Regions from separate parts of the Homo sapiens genome. Here all the other regions are linked to region 2. The links are contacts of gene promoters, found by promoter capture Hi-C in blood cells and fetal thymus (Javierre and others, 2016). All regions are on one chromosome and are shown on one strand. The core of a region is centred on a gene start or on the middle of the fragment in contact, and the rest is flanking DNA. Distances in the headings are between cores, read along the strand shown. Region 1 overlaps ARHGAP19 (Rho GTPase activating protein 19). Region 2 holds the start of ANKRD2 (ankyrin repeat domain 2). Region 3 overlaps ARHGAP19 (Rho GTPase activating protein 19).

Evidence for each region. The method cuts DNA at HindIII sites, captures the fragments that hold promoters and counts their contacts. A CHiCAGO score of 5 or more calls a contact.
Region 1: a fragment that was not itself captured here is called in contact with the fragment with the promoter of ANKRD2 in region 2 in 1 of 17 cell types (neutrophils); the score reaches 6.1 in neutrophils.
Region 3: a contact is called between a fragment that was not itself captured here and the fragment with the promoter of ANKRD2 in region 2, in 1 of 17 cell types (neutrophils). The highest score is 6.7, in neutrophils.

What each region holds. Positions count from the first base shown.
Region 1 is chr10:97,261,259-97,265,014 of GRCh38, forward strand. It overlaps ARHGAP19 (Rho GTPase activating protein 19), which reads right to left. Exons shown (of 12, transcript NM_032900.6): 3 at 3,568-3,648; 4 at 2,162-2,371. ARHGAP19-SLIT1 (ARHGAP19-SLIT1 readthrough (NMD candidate)) reads right to left here. Exons shown (of 15, transcript NR_037909.1): 3 at 3,568-3,648; 4 at 2,162-2,371. Among named protein-coding and RNA genes, the nearest start is that of ARHGAP19, 30 kb to the right of the region's middle. The HindIII fragment of the contact is 920 bases long and covers 1,955-2,874 here.
Region 2 is chr10:97,571,361-97,574,756 of GRCh38, forward strand. It overlaps ANKRD2 (ankyrin repeat domain 2), which reads left to right and starts at 1,419. Exons shown (of 9, transcript NM_001346793.2): 1 at 1,419-1,515. The coding sequence starts at 1,429. RefSeq lists a silencer at 3,372-3,396. The HindIII fragment of the contact is 18,561 bases long and covers 1-3,396 here.
Region 3 is chr10:97,229,806-97,233,299 of GRCh38, forward strand. It overlaps ARHGAP19 (Rho GTPase activating protein 19), which reads right to left. Exons shown (of 12, transcript NM_032900.6): 10 at 1-69. ARHGAP19-SLIT1 (ARHGAP19-SLIT1 readthrough (NMD candidate)) reads right to left here. Exons shown (of 15, transcript NR_037909.1): 10 at 1-69. It overlaps LOC105378447 (a long non-coding RNA gene), which reads left to right. Exons shown (of 3, transcript XR_946226.3): 3 at 1,351-1,433. Among named protein-coding and RNA genes, the nearest start is that of SLIT1, 46 kb to the left of the region's middle. The HindIII fragment of the contact is 6,324 bases long and covers 1-3,494 here.

The sequences.
Region 1 (3,756 bases), core at 1,165-3,664, 310 kb before region 2:
ATAATTCCAGGTTTAGGAAGGGCAGGTAACATTTCTAGAAAATGTTCTCTGTTAATATGAAACTGAAAACAAAAATTATTTCCAGTTATCAGCAAGGCATATGAAAGGCTACAACTGTGCCACGCCTCAGTATGTTCTCAAAGAACAGTCAATCACAGGGTAGTGGAAGGGAGGATTTCAAATATTGCACTAAACGAATGAACTGAACTGGAAAGCAAACAAAACAAGCATCCTTCATGTTAACACTTGTAAAAAGAATATTTTCCAAATCTTTTTCAAAGGTCTAACATCTTTATTTCTCCCCAAAATAACTGTAAAATTGTATAACATTCTAGTAGTATTTACTCATTGCATCATTTGGATTGCTACTAAAAGAGCTAAAAAAAAAAACTAATCGTATTAGATTTTTAAAATTCAACACTTGTTTCTTTAAGTAGTAAAAATTATTCAAAAGGAAAAAATCTTCTATTTCTTTTCCATATAATTAGAAGAAACAGGAAAAATACTCAGGGGCAGGAAACTAAGCAACTGCAGTAATGGATATTGATGCTGTGAACACTTAGAGCCCATAGCAGCATAACAGACGTGCAATTTAAGAATGAATTCCCTACCACATGGGTATAAAGCAGTATGAAGAAACTATTTATGAGCTGAAAATGGAACACTCTCCAAGATACAGTAAGTGAAAAAAGCAAACCACAGAACCATGTGTGTAACCTATTACATAAAAATCAGAGAAAAGGAATATATGTATTTGTTTGGAAGTACACAAAATATCTCTGGAAGGATACTTTAGAAATCAGTAACACTGGTCTGGGGGCTGCGGCTCATGCCTGCAATCCTAGCACTTTGGGAGACTGAGGAGGGAGGATCACTTGAAGCCAGGAGTTTGAGACCAGCCTGGGGAACAGGCTTTCTTTTAAAAAAAAAAAAAAAAAATTTTTTTTTTTTTAAATCAGTAACACTAACCAGTGTTACTGGTGTTGGGGACTGGGTGAACTGGGTGTTGGGGAACAAGTGTAGGAGAGAAGGTTTTTACTGTATATTATTTGAATCATCTGAATTTTGAACTATGTGTTTCTATTCAGAAAACAAATAATAATTTTTAAAAAAAATAAATTTCCTTGGCTGGGCACAGTGGCTCACATCTGTAATCCCAGCACTTTGGGAGGCCAAGGTAGGCCGATCACAAGATCAGAAGTTCGAGACCAGCCTGGCCAACATGGTGAAATCCCGTCTCTACTAAAAATACAAAAATTAGCTAGGCGTGGTAGCGCGTGCCTGTAGTCCCAGCTACTCGGGAGGCTGAGGCAGGAGAATCACTTGAACCCGGGAGGCGGAGGTTGCAGTGAGCCGAGATTGCACCATTGCGCTCCAGCCTAGTGACAGAGCGAGACTCAGTCTCAAAACAAACAAACAAACAAATAAAATTTCCAAGAGTAGAGATGCCCTCAACCGAGGCATAGAAATACTGAGCAAAAACCCCAAACCAAGGCAAAAATACCGAACCTATAAACATCTGAAATATATGAATCAATCCAATGAAAAGCATACATTTATTAAGCAACTAAAACACGTTGGGCACAGTGGCTCATGCCTATAATCCCAGCACTTCAGGAGGCCAAGGTGGGCAGATGGCTTTGGCCCAGGAGTTTGAGTCTGGGCAACACGGCGAAACCCCATGTCTACAAAAATTACAAAAAAATTTGCCAGGCGTGGTGCCGCACACCTATAGTCCCAGCTACTTGGGAGGCTGAGGTGGGAGGCTCACCTGAGCCCGGGAGAGCAAGGCTGCAGTGAGCCAAGGTTGCACCACTGCACTCCAGCCTAAGTGACAGAGTGAGATCATGTCTCCAACTAAAATGTTCTACACACTACTCGAGGATCTATCAGAGATTCAAAAATAAATAAAACTCAGACGACATCTTACTACCAGCTCCTTATCTCAATACAAAGCTTATTTATCAAGAAAGCCATTCAATTAAAATTAAACTTAACTAGCCAATACCTATGAGTACCCAGAGAAGTCCAGCAACATCACGAAATCTTAACCAATATTAATAGAAGTATTTCTGTGGGTCACAAGCAACAGAAATTTCCTAGGAACTTTACTAAATTGAAAGAAATGTATTTACATCTCCTTCTTACTTCCTATACTCACCAGCGATTTTGAGGTGTGCATTGAAGTGTTTATGTGTCAGCAGAGGCTCCGGCAACTCTCCTAGAAACATCTTCAGCAAAGTGGCAACATCATTTGAGTGAAATTCCCCTGATTCCAAGTCAATGTCAGTTCCATTATTGAGAGCATCCCTTAAAATCTGCTGTCGGACACTATTACCCGGTACTCTAAACAAACCCTCTACTCGCAAGTCTGTTTAGCATAAAACAAAGCAGAGGACAGGCAAAAAGGAAGCAGAAAGATTATTATTAAAATAAATGGTCTAAAGACTACTTTACACTTAAAAGACCCTTCACAAAGCCTTTCAAGTAAGTTTTTGCCTTTTTTCACCAGGGTAGTTTAGAACCTATTGACCTCCTGAGGAGACATATCTGAATGTCCCTGAGCATTTGGAGATCTTCCAAACTAAAAGGTAGTCCTCCTGGGAGTCATTCAACCTCCTGAGGTATGGATAGACAATCTGAATTTAACCCAATCAATGGTCAGGAATAGCTTGAAAAATAAACTTTAAAAAAGCCAAATCTCCCTAAAGACCTCTTCTTGTTTATCCCAGACTTCGTTTGGAGGGGCTACATACATCTGTGGATGTTTGTGGCTCTTGTAAACTGTTTTCCCAGCCCAGAATGAATCCAGAGTCTCTGCATTGCTCCAGGAATTAGAACTCTAATGTGTCAAATTCCTAAGAGATTCCCAGAAGCTTTAGGGTCATCCCAACTAAACTATTCGTCCCTAGGCCAGGCTCAATGGCTCACGCCTATAATCTCAGCACTTTGGGAGGCCTAGGCGGATGAATCACTTGAGCACAGTAGTTCAAGACAAGCCTAGGCAATATGGCAAAATCCCATCTCTACAAAAAACTACAAAAAGTAGCCGGGTGTGGTGGTGCAAGCTTGTGATCCCAGTTACTAGGGAGGCCAAGGTGGGAGAATCACCTGAGCCCGGGAGGTCAAGGCTGCAGTGAGCCAAGATCACACCACTGCACCCCAGCCTGGGTGAGAGAACGAGACCTTGTCTCAAAAAAAAAAAAAAAGTAAAGAGTGTGTTTTAATCATAGAATTCTGGAGAAAAAAGGTACCATGCTCTCTTAAATAAATGCAACAATTCTTTAGGGACAATGTATTTTTCCAGAAGTGTCTCTCTGAGGCAAGAGGTAAATGTGACTTCATAGACACGGTCTAATTTATATACACTTTGAGAGTATAAAACAAATGAATATATGAGATGAAGTTTAAAAGGAAATATATTTAAAAACATGCCACCCAAAATTAACACTGGTTAGTTCCTTTGTTGATGGTTAATTGGCACCTACTAACTCAAGGCAGTTAGCTCTCAACAGAAAACAGAATTCTTCATTAAACAAAGAATGATAAAATTTCAAGTAGTCTTACTTTTGTGTAGATACTCAATCAGTTGGTATATCTGGGCAATGCCTTCCTCCGTCAGTGGGGACCCAAATATCACTCCTTTTTCTGAAAAACCATATGATATGACAGGGCTATATTTCACACAAATAGTACAAAATCATCATACCTAAAACCACTCAAGCATCCTATTTTACAATTCAGCAAGCATTTTCA
Region 2 (3,396 bases), core at 169-2,668:
ATCCCAGCTCCCCTGGTGTCCTCATGAGTCCTCAGGAAAAGCCACTCTTTGCTTTTCTTTAAAGCAGAGCCATGCTGCCTGCCCTGCCTCCTCCATCAGTTGCTGGGAGGATTAAGCAGGAAGACAGATGTGAAAGTGCTTGCAAGGCGAAGACAGCACCTCAGGAAGGTGGTCTGCTCCTGCAGCAAGAGGGGCTAACTTCCGGCCCTGGAGACGCTGTAGCCATCGTGATGTTAAAGCAAAATCTCTGACAGATTTAGATCGTGTGTCAGAGGTTTGTGTCAGCTTCCCAGCAAGGGAACCAGAAAGGAAAAGGAACCGGTTCCTCATGCTTCCTAGGGGAATGCATGCATATCTGAAGAGAAGGGAATCTTATATAAGGCTGTTTAGCTAAGGGCAGCCACCAGCCAGGTGAGCCTTACAGAAGCACAGGGCTGGGTGTCTGCAGTTCCCTAGCAGATTAACCTGGGTCACAGTGACTCAGAGCTCCAGCATGCGAGTTCCAGGTGTGGAACTGAGCAAGTACAGATCTGCTTTTGCTCCACTTGGGAGTATTTTTCCTTCTTAGTGAGCATGGGCAGCCTCCTGGCCAGGGAAGTCTGGCACTGTCTGGGCCTGACAGGGAAACCCTGGGAGGGTAGAAGGATCCAGAGTAGCTGCTGTTCCTCGCTAGCTGGGCTTAGTGCTTTCCGGAGACCCCTTTCTTGAAGCAAGACTCTGTAAGCCCTGCAGAGGTCCCCTGAGCACTTACCAAGAGAGGAGACAGATTGGATAAGGTTTGTTCATGACTAAAAGTCACCCAGCCAAATGCAGTGATGCTTAACGGGGAAGCATGTGGGACCCCGGAGAGCCGAAGGCCAGCGTGAGCTGTGATCAGAGAGGGAGACAGCTGCCCTTCCTGCTACCACGGCCCTGGCCTGGACAAGTAGAGTGTGACCCTCCTCACAGCCAGCAGGGCCTGTCTGCAGGACAGCCTGGGAGTACAGAACTGTCCTGGGTCCCCCGTTTGGTTTTCAGGCCCTCTTCCTGGAGCTGGCTGAGCAGGGTTTCCAGGCATCCAGCAGGTGGCACTGTCATCTGGGCTGGAGCATGCAGCCAGCAGTTCCCTTTTGCAACTCAGTTGCCTTGGCTAAGGCCCAACCAGTCCCAAGTGCTCAGGACAGAGGCTGGACGGGCTCCTTCCTGCACCCCTGCTCTTGGGACACAGTGCCCTCCGGCTCTAATAGGCCAGGAGTTGGGGGGGCAACTGGCTCTGCTCCCTGGCCCTGGCTCCCCCTGCTCCCTGGGGCTGCCCGAGGTGAAGGTGACAGGTGGGGGAGGCAGGTGGAGAATTGGGCCAGTGAGCTCATGGCAAAGGCGCCCAGCTGGGCAGGGGTGGGTGCTCTGGCCTATAAAGCCCCCGAGGCCCTGTGGCCTGCAGAGGCGGTTATGGACGGCACCATGGAGGACTCCGAGGCGGTGCAGAGGGCCACAGCGCTCATCGAGCAGCGGCTGGCACAGGAGGAGGAGAATGAGGTGCGAGCAGGGGTGGAGGTGCCCAAGGGGGTCTGAGGAGATCCAGTTCTGCTGTCAAGGGGAGGGAGATCCTGTCTGCTACACCTGTGGTGGGGAGGGGGGCAGATGTCCCCAGGGGCCCAGTTGGGCCTCATTCCTGTCCCAGGGTATTACTGGCAGGGGGTATTGCTGGCAGCAGAAGACTGAGGCTTCAGCCTTCAAAATTAAGTCAGTGAGATGGGGAGCTGGGCTGGGCTTCCTAAGACTGCTCACCCTCCTGGGCCTTGAGAGACAGTGGGCTGTACAAAGCAGACAGCTGGGTGCTGCCTGGGACTTTCAGGAATGTGTGGCCCTGTGATGCCCCAGTGACTGAGTGGGAGGCTGGGGCAGGGGAAACTCCAGTATTTGGCCAGTGAAGAAGAGAGTGAGGAAGGGATGCTGGGAAATGAAGCATGGATTTTGCCAGCCTGCTGGCCACCCTTGGGGAGTCCTTTGGCGTGTGGTGTTCTGGGCAATTGCATTTTCTCTGGGATAAGGAAGTGGAGCGGTGGCAGGGGGTGCTGGCTTGTCCTATTCTGCATTTTTTTTTTTGAGACGGGGTCTCCCTCTGTTGCCCAGGCTGGAGTGCAATGCATGATCTTGACTCACTGCAACCTCCGCCTCCTGGGTTCAAGCGATTCTCCTGCCTCAGCCTCCCGAGTAGCTGGGATTACAGGCATGCACCACCATGCCTGGCTAATTTTTGTATTTTTAGTAGAGATGGGGTTTCACTCTGTTGGTCAGGCTGGTCTCAAACTCCTGGCCTCAGATGATCCACCCACCTTGGCCTCCCAAAGTACTGGGATTACAGGTATGAGCCACCATGCCCGGCCCCTACTCTTCACTTTATTTAAACTAATACTTCATCTAGTGTTGGCTCTGCCAAGAGCCCAGAGCTGTAGAAATGGGTGGACCAATAAGGGTCAGACCCTGCCTTCTTTTTACCAACCCAGGATTCATTTTAGCCCATTTGTTGGTTTCATAGTCAACTAAGAAACAAGGCAAAGGGAAGAAATGACTAAATAGAGGTGTGAATCAGAAGTGGAGGAACACAAGGGGCTCATGAATTGTTCTGAGGGCCTTCAAGGACTCCTCTGTGGACAGGGCCAGGTGCAGTGGCTCAAGCCTGTAATCCCAGCATTTTGAGATCTGAGATCCGAGGTGGGCAGATCACTTGAAGTCAAGAGTTCGAGACTCACCTGGCCAACATGGTGAAATCCTGTCTCTACTAAAAATACAATTAGCCAGGAATGGTGTCAGGCACCTGTAATCCCAGCTACTCAGGAGGCTGAGGCAGGAGAATTGCTTGAACCTGGGAGGCGGAGGTTGCAGTAAGCCGAGATCGCACCACTGCACTTCAGCCTGGGTGACAGAGGGAGACTCCGTCTCAAAAAAAAAAAAAAGGGGACTCCTCTGTGGACAGGAGGATACCTGAGCTGGGCCTTCAAGGGGACTCAGTGGAGTCCAGGATGGTGGAGGGTATTCCAGCCTCAGGAAATGCAGGAGCTGAAGTTTCCATGAGTGAAAGCGTGGCTGTCTTGATAAAGTCTGGTAGTAGGGGCTAAGGCTGGAAAGACACAAGCCAGAGAGGGCCATGTAAAAGATATTTATTCTGTGGGCAGTGAGGAGCCACTAAATGTTATTGAGTGAGGGAGATTGGTGTCATCTGACCTATTTTAGGAAAGCAGCTCTGATGGCCCTGAGAAGGACTTGTTGGAAAAGGCTGGCCCTAGCAGGAATGGAGGGGAGGAGATAAATCAGGTTGGAGGTAGATGCCATTCAAAAAAAGGAGTGTGACTGAATGAGGGGTGAGGAGGAAGGAAGGGTCAAGACCCCAAGGGAAGAAGGGATGAGGTCAGGAAA
Region 3 (3,494 bases), core at 851-3,350, 340 kb before region 2:
GGCCACAGATTCTGGAGTAGGGTTCTTCTTTTTCTTTTCTGACATCATCTGATTTCCCAGGACCTTCCGCTGATTTAAGAACAGAAAACATTTGATTTATAAACACCTACTGCATCTACAGTGGAGCTATACTAGCCTTCAAAACTGTAATGTCCTTGGGTTAAAAAAATCTCAGCATTCTGATAATCCTGTATGGACCCTCTCAGGCCATCTTATACAAGAGAGGCCAAAGCATGTTACCAAAAAAACCCAAAATCATTACTTTTGTTTAAGTGATCACTTTTCCTCCACATTTAAAAGGGCTGAAAGGTTAGAAGCAACTTTATAGTTGATTTAAACAAGCTAATATAGGTCAATTACAGTGTGCCTCTGAGACCAGTTACTCACAATATAGAAACACCAGTTACTCATCATATAATTTTTTTCCCCAAAGATGTGCTGTCTCTGGCAACTATTTAAAAAGTCCCTCCCCCCTACTTACCACTGAGGGATACTTAGGCTGGCTCTTCTCTAAGGCACTTCTTCCTCCCTGTCATTTACTCACACAGGACTGGAACATTTGGAGACATTCTATAAGAGTTCCTAATATAGCCACAAGAAGGTAGAGGCCTTCTTAAGGGGGTCACATGACTGTACTGACATTCAGAGCAAGACTAAAAGCCCTTTCATCTCTGAACAGCTTAGAAGATGATGTAGTTTAGGTAACCGCCAACAGTGACAATTCTACCATCTTTGGAGAAATTTTTTTTTCCCTTAGAGAATAAATTTGAATTCTAAAAAAAGAACATATCAAAACTAGAACATTAAACCCTGCATTATAAATATGAGCAGCAATATTCAGAACATTCTGATTTAATAAATAATTTACATGAGAGGAGTTCTGGAGGAAAAAACTCTAGCCAAAAAAGGGATCCAGACAGGCTAGATGGTCAATTATACCTTGATAAGGCTGAGGGAAAACACAAAAATAATATTTTAGGCCGGGAGCGGTGGCTCACGCCTGTAATCTCAGCACTTTGGGACGCTGAGGCGGGTGAATCGCTGGAGGCCAGGAGTTTGAGACCAGCCTGGCCAACATGGTGAAATACTGTCTCTACTAAAATTAACTGGGCGTGGTGGTGCATGCCTGTAATCCCAGCTACTCGGGAGGCCGAGGCATGAGAATCACTTGAACCCAGGAAGTGGAAGTTGCAGTGAGCTGAGATCATGCCACTGCACTCCAGCCTGCACACCTAGTGAGACTCTTGTCTCACCAAAAAAAAAAAAAAAAAAAAAAAAAAAAAAGACTAACACATAGAGGAACATTTATCTGACTATAACTTTTCTGATTCTCAATCATCTCTATGACAGGGAAGTCAGAGGGAATGACAGATTCTTCCAAATGAGAAGAAAAAAACAAGAGTAAACTAACGATGTTCGTTTTACTAGCCCTGTCTAAGCAGGTAAATGCACTTTTAGGATTCTAGCTAAGGGATTTTTTTTAAACAATGATAAAATGAACATAACATAAAATTTACTATTTTAACCATTTTTAAGTATACAGTTCAATGGTATTAAGTATATTAATAGTGTTGTGCAACCATCACCATCATCTATCTTCAGAACTTTCTCATCCTCCCAAACAGAAATACTGTACCCATTAAATAATATCTCCCCATTCTCCTCATACTCTTAGCTCCCCTGACAACCAACCACCTTCTCTACTTTCTGTCTCTGAACTTGACTCACAGGTACCTCAGTGGAATCATACAGTATTTTTCCTTTTATGACTGGATTATTTCTCTTAGCATAATATCTTCAAGATTCACGCATGTTGTAGGATATGTCAGAATTTCTTTCCTTTTTAAGGACAAATAATGTTCCATTATCTGTATATCCAAGGTTTGTCATCCATTCATCAGTCAATAGACAGTTGGGTTGCTTCTGCCTTTTGGCTTTTGTGAATAATGCTGCTATGAATACGGGTGTACAAATATTGCCTCAAGACCCTGCTTTCAATTCTTTTGGTTATATACCGGGAGTAGCATTGCTGGATCACAAGGTCATTCTATTTAAATTTTTTAGGAACTGCCATACTGTTTTCCACAGTGGCTCCTCCATTTTACATCCCTATCAATAATGCATAGGGGTTCCAAATTCTCCACATCCTCATCAACATTTGTTATTTTCCGTTGTTTTTTTTTTTTTTTTTTTAATAATAGTCATCCTAGTGGGTGTGAAGTGGTATCTAATTGTGGTTTTGATTTACATTTCCCTAATGATTAGTGATGTTGAACATCTTTTCATGTGTTTCTTGGCCATCTGTACATCTTCTCTGGAGAAATTTCTATTTAAGTCCTTTGCTCACTATTTTTTTTTTTTTTTTTTTTTTTTTTTGAGACAGAGTCTCGCTCTGTCACCCAGGCTGGAGTACAGTGGCTCAATCTCGGCTCACTGCAACCTCTGCCTCCTGGGTTCAAACGATTCTCCTGCCTCAGCCTCCTGAGTAGCTGGGACTACAGGCACATGCCAACATGCCCGGCTAATTTTTTGTATTTTTAATAGAGATGGAGTTTCACCGTGTTAGCCAGAATGGTCTTAATCTCCTGACCTCGTGATCCGCCCACCTCAGCCTCCCAAAGTACTGGGATTACAGGCGTGAGCCACTGTGCGCGGCCTCTGCCCACTCTTTAATGAGGTTGTTTTTGCTGTGTTGAGTTATAGGAGTTCTTTAGATTATTATGGATATTAATCCCTAATCATAAATATGATTTGCAAATATTTTCTCCCAATCCAGGGTTGCCTTTTCACTCTGTAGATGGCAAAGGAAATTTTGATGTCAAGTAAGCCTAATGTCCTAGAAGCTACTGGCCCCAGGAGGTCAGGATTGAGAGTGAATTCTAGATATCTATAAATTATAACTAGGACCAAAATTACAGTAAGATGAATTTGTAAATGCTAACAGCTGTACCTCAAAAAAAAAAAATTACAGACACAGTGGCTCACATCTGTAATCCCAGCACTTCAGGGGGCCAAAGCAGGAGGATCACTTGAGCCCAGAAATTCAAGACCAGCAACACAGGCTGGGCATGGTGGCTCACGCCTATAATCTCAGCACTTTGGGAGGCCGAAGCGGGCAGATTACTTGAGGCCAGGAGTTCAAGACCAGGCTGGCCAACATGGTGAAACCCCATCTCTACTAAAAATACAAAAAATTAGCCGGGCATGGTGGTGGGCGCCTGTAATCCCAGCTACTAGGGAGGCTGAGGTGGAAGAATCACTTGAACCCTGGAGATGGAGGTTGCAGTGAGCTGAGATCACGCCACTGCACTCCAGCCTGAGGCATAGAGCGAGACTGTCTCAAAAAAAAAAGACCAGCAACACAGCAAGACCCCATCTCTACAAACATTTAAAAATCAGCCAGGTATGATGGCATGCACTTGTGGTCCCAGCTACTTGGGAGGCTGAAGTAGGAGGATCGCTGAGCGCCCAGGAGATCAAGGCTGCAATAAGCC